Linked DNA regions of Homo sapiens: regions 2 and 3 are each linked to region 1. Evidence: promoter capture Hi-C in human tissues and cell types (Jung and others, 2019). All regions are on one chromosome and are shown on one strand. The core of a region is centred on a gene start or on the middle of the fragment in contact, and the rest is flanking DNA. Distances in the headings are between cores, read along the strand shown. Region 1 holds the start of TFRC (transferrin receptor). Region 2 overlaps MUC20 (mucin 20, cell surface associated). Region 3 has its middle 26 kb from the start of SMCO1.

Evidence for each region. The method cuts DNA at HindIII sites, captures the fragments that hold promoters and counts their contacts. A contact is called where the count stands out against the background at its distance.
Region 2: a contact is called between a fragment that was not itself captured here and the fragment with the promoter of TFRC in region 1, in 1 of the 25 tissues and cell types used here (mesenchymal stem cells).
Region 3: a fragment that was not itself captured here is called in contact with the fragment with the promoter of TFRC in region 1 in 1 of the 25 tissues and cell types used here (IMR-90 fibroblasts).

The regions. Positions count from the first base shown.
Region 1 is chr3:196,080,057-196,083,919 of GRCh38, reverse strand. TFRC (transferrin receptor) reads left to right here and starts at 1,830. Exons shown (of 19, transcript NM_001128148.3): 1 at 1,830-1,877. RefSeq lists silencers at 1,508-1,847, 1,898-2,197 and an enhancer at 3,079-3,578. The HindIII fragment of the contact is 11,516 bases long and covers 1-3,863 here.
Region 2 is chr3:195,727,681-195,731,465 of GRCh38, reverse strand. It overlaps MUC20 (mucin 20, cell surface associated), which reads right to left. Exons shown (of 4, transcript NM_001282506.2): 3 at 1,727-1,818. Among named protein-coding and RNA genes, the nearest start is that of MUC20, 8.6 kb to the right of the region's middle. The HindIII fragment of the contact is 3,313 bases long and covers 295-3,607 here.
Region 3 is chr3:196,539,715-196,543,618 of GRCh38, reverse strand. No RefSeq gene overlaps it. Among named protein-coding and RNA genes, the nearest start is that of SMCO1, 26 kb to the right of the region's middle. The HindIII fragment of the contact is 9,111 bases long and covers 1-3,904 here.

The DNA of each region.
Region 1 (3,863 bases), core at 581-3,080:
GTCTGGGCTACATAGCAAACCCTGCGTCAAATTAAAAATAAAAAATAAATAGGCTGGGCATGGTGGCTCATGCCTGTTATCCCAACATTTTAGGAGGCCAAGGTGGGCAGATCACCTGAGGTCAGGAATTCGAGACAAGCCTGGCCAACATGATAAAATCCCGTCACTCCTCAAAATACAAAAATTAGCCTGGCATGGTGGCACACACCTGTAGTCCCAGCTACTTGGGAGGCTGAGGCAGGAGAATCGCTTGAATCCGGAGGCAGAGGTTGCAGTGAGCCCGAGATCATGCCACTGTACTCCAGCCAGGGTGACAGAGCAAGACACTGTCTTAAAAGTAAAAATAATAAAAATAAATAAAATTAATAATTAAAGAAATAAAGAAGGAACACCACAGGGGAGCAGGCCTGGTGTCTGAATGTTAAGGTAGGCCCTCTGTGGATGTGCATCCTTAACCTTTTCCTGATTAGATCATTAAAGGTGCAGCAATGCTCCTGCTCATATGACTTTTTTTTTTTTTTGAGATGGAATCTTGCTCTGTCGCCCAGGTTGGAGTGCAATGGCGCGATCTTGGCTCACTGCAACCTCCGCCTCTTGGGTTCAAGCGATTCTTCTGCCTCAGCCTCCTGAGTAGCTGGGATTACAGGCGCGTGCCACTATGCCTGGCTAATTTTTTTTGAAATTTTTTTAGTAGAGATGGGGTTTCACCATATTGGTCAGGCTGGTCTCGAACTCCAGACCTCGTGATCCGCTCACCTCGGCCTCCCAAAGTGTTAGGATTGCAGGCGTGAGCCACCGCGCCTGGCAACTCATATGACTTTTAAACACTTCTCTTTGGGGAGAGAGATTTTAGAGAATGGGAGTAAAGAGAAAGGCGGTGAGAATCCCAAGTACTTTCTCTATCTTAGAGCAGAAGAAATAAAGGGAAGAGTAAAAGCCCAAGGCCCAGAAACGGATTTGCTTCTTAAAGGGCTGTTCTGTGTCCCTACGGGCCTGAAGGTCAGTTTATGTGCAATGCTTTTTAAGGTATGGGTTGCTTTCTTGCATTGTAGCTACTACCTCCCTGGCCTGCTGGTTACTGACCAGAGGGAGGGAGAGGGTGTGATTGTTTGGAAAGAGTTTAAACAGTGACAAGAATTGAATTTTATTTATTTGTTATTCATTGCACAATCCAATAACAGCGATGGCAATGAAAACGAAAGTTAATCTACAATCCTATCACCCTATTAAGTCACTTGTTTCTATTTTCCCTTTTATTCCCTCATGCATTAAACATTACGCAAAGCACTCCGCTAGTCTTGGTTAAAGTGCAGCTTGTATACATTCTGAATAAAAATTTGCATTTTGCTTTTCTTTTCCTTTTTGTATTTCTGAGGCTGCAAAATACATCTTCACAAGAGTGGCTTTAATAGTTACCTAACATTCCATCCTGCACGTACATTTCAAGGCACTGCCGCAGTGCAATATCCAACATTTAAGCGTCAACGCCAACAGATTGGACCTAGCACTGCAGGGACTGGAGGTTGGTCAAGGTCAGGCGGAGGCTGCCAGGCTACCAGGGTGGAGGAAGGCGCCGAGGCAGAGGCCAGTGCGCCCATCGCGCGGCTCCTCGGGGCACCTGCTGCCTTGGCGCCTTTTCCCTTGGCCTTCGCCTCGCCCGCAGCGCCCTCCGCATAGGGCCCCGCCCGCTGCGCGCGCATCCCCGCCCCCCGGGCGATCTGTCAGAGCACCTCGCGAGCGTACGTGCCTCAGGAAGTGACGCACAGCCCCCCTGGGGGCCGGGGGCGGGGCCAGGCTATAAACCGCCGGTTAGGGGCCGCCATCCCCTCAGAGCGTCGGGATATCGGGTGGCGGCTCGGGACGGAGGACGCGCTAGTGTGAGTGCGGGCTTCTAGAACTACACCGACCCTCGTGTCCTCCCTTCATCCTGCGGGGCTGGCTGGAGCGGCCGCTCCGGTGCTGTCCAGCAGCCATAGGGAGCCGCACGGGGAGCGGGAAAGCGGTCGCGGCCCCAGGCGGGGCGGCCGGGATGGAGCGGGGCCGCGAGCCTGTGGGGAAGGGGCTGTGGCGGCGCCTCGAGCGGCTGCAGGTACACGGGGTCGGCGGCTGTGCGCAGAGGCGTCCCTGCGCCTCTCGTCCCTTCGCCTCTCGTCCCTTCCCTTCTCTCTGCCTTCTTGCCCGCCTCCTCGGTCACAGAGCGACGAATGACGAGACCAGGTGTACCCCCACTGTCGCTCTCAGCCCCGGGGACTTCGGGTCCTCGCCCTTGAAGGCCGCAGGCCCTAGTGCGCCGGCTCCGGGCTGCGGGTCCGGGAGCGCGGGCGCAGCCAAGGTGCAGCTGCGCGGCGTGCGGCGCCGGGGGAACACGTGGCTGCTCCAGGAAGTCGCCCCAGGGAACGGCTGGGATTCGTGGGTGACCTTGGGCTCCTAAACCTTCGGTTCCCCGGGCTCCGGGCGGGCCCCGTTCTCACTGCGGAAAGGGACAAAGCTGTCCCCGATTCGGTTACTAGCGTGTTACAGGCATTAATTAGATACGGGTTTCTGTAAACTTACCCTTCGGCTCTGGTACAACCTGATCTTGCCATGCTCTGCCTGTTCGCCTTGTGTGTGGATTCTGTTTTCTCAAGGCAGAATCCGACTGAACGCCGCAGGTGTTCACATTAAGAATATTGCTAGCAGTTCTCACTACAAGACGGGAGCCATAGGAGTGACTTATTTGTGAAAGATACTTGGAGATTAGCGGTGTGGTCAGAGGGCTGTGCTGGATTGATGGGCGCCGGAGAGGCCGATTGTGTCACATTCTGCTGGACAGTTCTTTTAAGGTTGGGAGGGTGGGTAAGAAAATACATTCTGATTCGGCTCTTTTCGGATAACGCTTTCCCTCTGCTTACTGCTTGTAGAGACCTCACTTACCCGGGGGACTGGATTCTGCAGCTTTTTCCATTTTCTTCCCCGTTGATAAGAGGATTAAAGTAGGAAATTGTATTTGGCTACCCCATGCTTATATGCTAAGCTTACTGTGAAAATTAAGGTTAGGCTGTCTAGAGTACTTGTGGACCCTGCTGGTTCCCCCCGCCCCCCGGCCCTGAATTTTGGGTTACAATATGCTTCTCAAGAAAACTCAGAGTTAAGATAATTTTTGTCATCGATTTTGCAAGGTTATATATAGCATAGCATCCTTCAATTTCCTTTGGATGTTCTTATCAAGTAATGGTGGCTGTAAACCTAGCCTGTGTTGAAGATTGTTAGATAGACAGCAGTTTGGCTAACTCCGCCCTAAGGCGAGGCAGTTACTTGCCTCTGATAATGTATTTAAATGTCATGGAGCAAGATTCCCAGCTAAACCTGAATCGATCACAATGCTAGTTAAAAATGACCCTCGGCTGGGCGCATTGGCTCCCGCCTGTAATCCCAGCACTTTGGGAGGCCAAGGCAGGCGGATCACCTAAGGTCAGGAGTTCGAGTCCAGTCTGACTAACATGGTGAAATCCTGTCTCTACTAAAAACACAAAAATTAGCCGGGCATGGTGGCTCACGTCTGTAATTCCAGCACTTTGGGAGGCCGAGGCAGGTGGATCACTTGTGGTGAGGAGTTCGAGACTAGCCTGGCCAACATGGTGAAACCCCGTCTCTACGAAAAATACAAAAATTAGCTGGGCATGGTGGTGCACACCTGTAATCCCAGCCACTCAGGAGGCTGAGGCTCGAGAGTCGCTTTAACCTGGGAGGCAGAGGTTGTAGTGAGCTGAGATCGTGCTACTGCACTCCAGCCTGCGCGACAGCGAGATGCCATCTCAAAAACAACAACAAAAAAACTCCCTACTAAACCAGAAGAGTGATGGGGACGGGAAAAGATTCCTGGT
Region 2 (3,785 bases), core at 702-3,201, 350 kb after region 1:
GCTGCCAACAAATCCCCCTTTTACTTACGACAGACAGAGGTTTTCTTTCGCCTGCAACAAAGGATCCCACTCTCCACGGACATATCTTGCTTCCCTCTGCTAAGGGCAATCATTCCACCTGTCCAGCCTGGCTATGAACTCTACACCTGGCATAAGACCCCCAGCCAGCATCTCTGCCAGGTTTACCCTTGCAAGGGATGACAGGAAGCCTGAGCCACTTTTCAGCAGTGTGGCACCCATTGACTGTGAGAGGTGCTGAATGCAAGCTTCAGGTATTAGCAAGGGCACTGTCCCATTGACTGTGAGAGGTGCTGAATGCAAGCTTCAGGTATTAGCAAGGGCACTGTCAAAGAGGCAATCCACATTAGACTGTGCACTGGGCCTGTTTTCACGGTTACATCTGTGAGCAGAGCTTAGACACTTCCCATCATGCCCCATCTGCTACTTTGTACCACACATTAGGAGAACAACCCACCCCTCAGTGAGGCCAGGCCCGTGACATCTGCACTGAGCTGACCCAGTCTAACCTCCAACAAGCCACACCATCCCCATCCTCAAAACCCTGACCCCGGAACTTTACCATTGGAAGTTCTATCCAGTGGGTTTTAGGAGAATTTTCCCAACTTGTACAAATACATCCCAATCATGGTCCTCATCTAGAGTATACATCTCTGCGGTTTTTTCTGCCTAGCCTCCCTATTTTCTTGGGGCTCATCCTTCCTCTATGGGATCCTGACTGGGTTGTCAGTCATGGTGACCCTTGCAGGCCATGGAGACCTGCACTTCCCCAGATGACATGAAAATTTGGGGAGAGGGGGCCGGGTGCGGTGGCTCATGTCTGTAATCCCAGCACTTTGGGAGGCCAAGACGGGTGGATCACGAGGTCAGGAGATTGAGACTATTCTGGCTAACACGGTGAAACCCCGTCTCTACTAAAAAAAAAAACATAAAAATTAGTTGGGCGTGGTGGCGGGCGCCTGTAGTCCCAGCTACTTGGGAGGCTGAGGCAGGAGAATGGCGTGAACCCAGGAGGCGGAGCTTGCAGTGAGCTGAGATCGCACCACTGCACTCCAGCCTGGGCGACAGAGCGAGACTTCGTCTCAAAAAACAAAAAGAAAGAAAGAAAAAGAAAAAAGAAAAGAAAATGTGGGGAGATGGAAGTCCCTTGTGAATCTATGGCTAACAAGGCTGCCTTTTCATACACATGAAGAAAGACTCTGAAGAATGAAGGGAGTAAAGCTAAGACAGGGAAAGAAAGAGAAAGTCCCTGTGATGGCGCTGGAGCTGCTGGATCCAGCCGTACTGAAGCTGAAGAGACACTTGTAGGTTTCTCAGACCTTGCCTTTTTTTTTTTTTTTTTTTTTTTGCATAAACTGCCCTGACTTGGGTTTCTGCCACTTGCAACCAAGAGTCCGACCTACCCTCCCATCAGTATCACTGACCTTTGCCTCAGAGGCCAGAAGGCCAAGCTTCCAAGGACCAGAAGAAACTGGGGGCTCTAGGAGTCACATGTTTACATTGCAGAGAAGGAAATGAAGAACTCGGAGAAGGCAGGCAGAAGCAAAGCCAGGCAGAGATCCTCAGATTCAGCTCCCAATTCTCCGTAAGAAACGAGACTCCCTTCCAAGCGCGGTAGCTGCTCTTCTGTGTCCTGCGGGTCTTCCCTGCAGCCCCTGCGAACCTCGCCCCTTCCTCTACTCCCCTGGCCCGGAAAGTGCCCACTCACCTGCTGCATCAGCCTTTCTGCCACTCTGGGGTCAGTGAGGTCTTCCGGGGAAGCCACACTCAGCCGCAGGAGGAGGAAACCTCCATTTTCACCTGCAAATGGAGAACAGTAAGATGAAAATCAGGGCTGGGCGCAGTGGCTCACACCTGTCATCCCAGCACTTTGGGAGGCAGAGGCAGGTGGATCACCTGAGATCGGGAGTTTGAGACCAGCCTGACCAACATGGAGAAATCCCGTCTTTACTAAAAACACAAAATGAGCCGGGCATGGTGGTGCGTGCCTGTAATCCCAGCTACTCAGGAGGCTGAGGCAGGAGAATCGCCTGAACCTGGGAGGCGGAGGTTGTGGTGATCTGAGATCGCAGCACTACACTCCAACCTGGGCAACAAGAGCGAAACTGTCTCAAAAAAAAAAAAAAAAAAAAAGAGGAGGATGAAATAGTCACATATATTTGCTTCCGTATGTACATTTCATGTGCAGAAAATTACACACAAGAGACAATCTCACGGGTTACATGTGTGGAGAGAACTGGGTGGGGGCACAGCCAGGGGAGAAAGGCATTTTATGGTGAACCTTTTCGTACCTTTCCATTTCAAATCATATGAATGTCTTATCTAATCAACAAATAATAAAGTATTTTTCTTTCCAGGGAAAAGAAGGAGCGATCAGACTGTCACTGTGTCTCTGTAGAAAGGAAAGACATGAGACTCCATTTTGAAAAAGACCTGTACTTTAAACAAGCTTTGCTGAGATGTTGTTAATTTGTAACTTTGCCCCAACCTTGAGCTCATAAAAACATGTGTTGTATAAAATCAAGGTTTAAGGGATCTAGGGCTGTGCAGGACGTGCCTTGTTAACAAAATGTTTACAAGCAGTATACTTGGTAGAAGTCATCGCCATTCTCTAGTCTCAATAAACCAGGGGCACAATGCACTGTGGAAAGCCGCAGGGACCTCTGCCCTTGAAAGCAGGTTATTGTCCAAGCTTTCTCCCCATGTATAGTCTGAAATATGGCCTTGTGGGATGACAAAGACCTGACCGTCCCCCAGGCTGACACCCGTAAAGGGTCTGTGCTGAGGTGGATTAGTAAAAGAGGATCTCCTCTTGCAGTTGAGATAGAGGAAGGCCACTGTCTCCTGCCTGCCCCTGGGAACTGAATGTCTCAGTATAAAACCCGATTGTACATTTGTTCAATTCTGAGACAGGAGAAAAACCACCCTGTGGCGGGAGGTGAGACATGTTTGCAGCAATGCTGCTTTATTATTCTTTACTCTGCTGAGATGTTTGGGTGGAGAGAAACATAAATCTGGCCTACGTGCACATCCAGGCATAGTATCTTCCCTTGAACTTAATTATGACACAGATTCTTTTGCTCACATGTTTCTTGCTGACCTTCTCCTTATTATCACCCTGCTCTCCTACTACATTCCTTTTTGCTAAAATAATGAAAATAATAATCAATAAAAACTGAGAAAACTCAGAGACTGGTGCCGGTGCAGGTCCTTGGTATGCTGAGCGACGGTCCCCTGGGCCCACTGTTGTTTCTCTATACTTTGTCTCTGTGCCTTATTTCTTTTCTCAGTCTCTCATCCCACCCGACTAGAAATACCCACAGGTGTGGAGGGGCAGGCCACCCCTTCACTTTCCAGAGCAGTTTAGCTACCATCTTTAACCCTGTCAGATGGGGTCGTGTTACCCACCTCCTAAGGCTGTTTTGAAGGTTAAATAGAGGAGATAACATATGCAAAGCTGGTGGCACACTGCCTGGCATCATAACATATGCAAAGCTGGTGGCACACTGCCTGGCATCAGATAACATATGCAAAGCCGGTGGTACACTGCCTGGCATCAGATAACATATGCAAAGCTGGTGGTACACTGCCTGGCATCAGATAACATATGCAAAGCCGGTGGCACACTGCCTGGCATCAGATAACATATACAAAGCCGGTGGCACACTGCCTGGCATCAGATAACATATGCAAAGCTGGTGGCACACTGCCTGGCACCGGAGAGAACGTTCTGCTGGGGCCAGTGCTTACTGGGTGTGAAACATGTT
Region 3 (3,904 bases), core at 1-2,500, 460 kb before region 1:
GTCCAGAGTGCAGCCTCTGCCCGGCCGCCACCCCGTCTGGGAAGTGAGGAGCGTCTCTGCCTGGCCGCCCATCGTCTGGGATGTGAGGAGCCCCTCTGCCTGGCTGCCCAGTCTGGAAAGTGAGGAGCGTCTCTTCCCGGCCGCCATCCCATCTAGGAAGTGAGGAGCGTCTCTGCCCGGCCGCCCATCGTCTGAGATGTGGGGAGCGCCTCCGCCCCGCCGCCCCGTCTGGGATGTGAGGAGCGCCTCTTCCCGGCCGCGACGCCGTCTGGGAGGTGAGGAGCGTCTCTGCCCAGCCGCCCCATCTGAGAAGGGAGGAGACCCTCCGCCCGGCAGCCACCCCGTCTGGGAAGTGAGGAGCGTCTCCGCCCGGCAGCTGCCCCGTCCGGGAGGGAGGTGGGGGTCAGCCCCCTGCCCGGCCAGCCGCCCCGTCCGGGACGTGAGGGGCGCCTCTGCCCGGCCGCCCCTACTGGGAAGTGAGGAGCCCCTCTGCCCGGCCACCACCCCGTCTGGGAGGTGTACCCAACAGCTCATTGAGAACGGGCCATGATGACAATGGCGGTTTTGTGGAATAGAAAGCGGGGAAAGGTGGGGAAAAGATTGAGAAATTGGATGGTTGCCGTGTCTGTGTGGAAAGAAGTAGACATGGGAGACTTTTCATTTTGTTCTTTACTAAGAAAAATTCTTCTGCCTTGGGATCCTGTTGATCTGTGACCTTACCCCCAACCCTGTGCTCTCTGAAACATGTGCTGTATCCACTCAGGGTTAAATAGATTAAGGGCGGTGCAAGATGTGCTTTGTTAAACAGATGCTTGAAGGCAGCATGCTCGTTGAGAGTCATCACCACTCCCTAATCTCAAGTACCCAGGGACACAAACACTGCGGAAGGCCGCAGGGTCCTCTGCCTAGGAAAATCAGAGACCTTTGTTCACTTGTTTATCTGCTGACCTTCCCTCCACTATTGTCCCATGACCCTGCCAAATCCCCCTCTGTGAGAAACACCCAAGAATGATCAATAAAAATAAAAATTAAAAAAAAAAAAATGGGCAAAAGATTTGGATACCTCTAGCATTGGGAGATATACCTAATGCTAGATGACGAGTTAGTGGGTGCAGTGCACCAGCATGGCACATGTATACATATGTAACTAACCTGCACAATGTGCACATGTACCCTAAAACTTTAAGTATAATTAAAAAAAAAAAAGATTTGGACACCTCACCAATATGGATATATAAATGGCCAATAAGTACATGAAAAGGTGCATGACATGAATAGTCATTAGGTAAATGCAAATTAAAACTACAATGTAACACCTGTATACACCCACTAGAATGGCTACACTTATAAAGACTGACAATGTTGACAGGAATGCGGAGCAACGGGAACTCTCACACATCGTTAGTAGGAATGCAAAATGGTACAGCCGCTTTGGAAAGCAGTTGGGCCACTTTTAAAGCTAAACATATGCTTATAATATGACCTAGCAATTCTATTTTTAGGTATTTACTCAAGAAAAATAAAATACTATCACATTTGGGATTTTTAAGAAAAGAAAAAGAAATAATAAAAAAATTTTAAAGGGAAATGAAAAAATACGTTCACACAAAATTCTTGACCCAAATGTTTATAGCTACTTTGTTCATAATAGCCAAATTGGAAATAACACAAATGTCCCTCAACTGTTCAACCACTCACAGTGTGTCCGTGCAATGGAATACTATTGAGCAATAAAAGGAACAGATTGTGGACACAGGCAAGAACATGGACAAATCTCAAAAGCATTGTGGTATGTGAAAGAAGCAAGTATATGCCTAGCAGACTAAATACTAATGATTCCATTTATATCCAAATACTATATGATTCTATTTATATGACATTCTGGAAAAGGCAAAACAGAAAGCAGCTCAGAGGTTTCCAGGGGTCAGAGGCAGGGTATAGGATTGGCTGCAAAGAAGTACAAGGGAAGTTTTCAGGGTGATGGGGGATATTCTGTGGTCTTTATCATGATTGTGGCAGTCATTATATGACTGTAAACATTTGTCAGAGCTCAGTAAGCCATACTTTTTAAATTATTGAATTTTATTGTATGTAAGTTATATCTCAAAACTAATTTATTTTTATTTTTTAAAATTAGAGATGGGGTCTTGCTATGTTGCCCAGGCTGGTCTTGAACTCCTGGCCTCAAACAATCCTCTGGGCTCAGCCTCCCAAAGTGCTAGGATTATAAGTGTGAGCCACTGAATCGGGGCTGAAAACTTAAGTTTTTTAAAGGTTGCTTGCTACAAAGTGCAGTTTCAAGACAAGTGTCTTACTGCTTTTTCTGGACCTATTACTACCCCAAATCTCTTGTACTAGAGCTTCAAGCTTTCACCACCATTAATGTTTATATTGTCTTGATTTACTTTAATTCTACTAATTTTTCACTTAAAATAAGGATTTTTTTTTTTTTTTGGAAACAGAATCTCGCTCTGTCACCCAGTGCAGTGGTGCTATCTCGGCTCACTGCAACCTCCATCTCCCAGGTTCAAGCCATTCTCCTGCCTCAGCTTCCCAAGTAGCTGGGATTACAGGTGCGCACCACCAGCCTGGCTAATTTTTGTTGTGTGTGTGGTTTTTTTTTTTTTTTTTTTTTGAGACAGAGTCTCACTCTGTCACCCAGGCTGGAGTGCAGTGGTGCGATCTCAGTTTACTGCAAGCTCTGCCTCCCGGGTTCACGCCATTCTTCTGCCTCAGCCTCCCGAGTAGCTGGGACTACAGGCGCCCGCCAGCATGCCCAGCTAATTTTTGAATCTTTAGTAGAGACGGGGTTTCACCGTGTTAGCCAGGATGGTCTTGATCTCCTGACCTCATGATCCGCCCGCCTTGGCCTCCCAAAGTGCTGGGATTACAGGCATCAGCCACCGCACCCGGCCTTTTTCTTTTTTCTTTTTTTTCGAGATGGAGTTTCACTTTTGTTGCCCAGGCTGGAGTGCAATGGTGCGATCTCAGCTCACTGTAACCTCCACCTCCCAGGTTCAAGCGATTCTCCTGCCTCAGCCTTCCAAGTAGCTGGGATTACAGGCGCGCACCACCATGCCTGGCTAATTTTTTGTATTTTTAGTAGAGATGGGGTTTCAGCACGTTGGCCAGGCTGGTCTCGAACTCCTGACCTCAAGTGATCCACCCACCTCGGTCTCCCAAAGGGCTGGGATTACAGGTGTGAGCCACCAAATTTTCATATTTTTATTAGAGACGGTCTCATCATGTTGACCATGCTGATCTCGAACTCCTGACCTCAAATGATCCACCCGCCTCGGTCTCCAAAAGTGCTGGGATTATAGATGTGAGCCGCCATGCCCGGCCTAAAATAAGGATTTTTAAAATTAGGCTTCACAACTTAAATTAATACTTTTTCCATCTTTTCTTTGTCTCGTTTGAAGTTATGATGTTAGAAATAGTAATACAGGCCGGGTGTGGTTGCTCACGCCTGTAATCCCAGCACTTTTGGAGGCCTAGGTGGGTGGATCACCTGAGGTCAGGAGTTTGAGACCAGCCTGGCCAACATGATGAAACCCTGTCTCTACTAAAAATACAAAAATTAGCCAGGCGTGGTGGTGCACACCTGTAATCCCAGCTACTCAGGAGGCTGAGGCAGGAGAATTGCTTGAACCTGGGAGGCGAAGGTTGCAATGAGCTGAGACCACGCCATTGTACTCCAGCCTGGGTGACAAGAGTGAAACTCCGTCTCAAAAAAAAAGAAATAATAATACAAGCTGGGCATGGTGGCACATGCCTGTAGTCCCAGCTACTCAGGAGGCTGAGGCTGGAGGATGACTTAAGCCCAGGAGTTTGAGACTAGCCAGAGTTTGAACTGGGCATGTGTTCAACAGAAACACCTTGACTGGTTTCTCAGCAGACACAG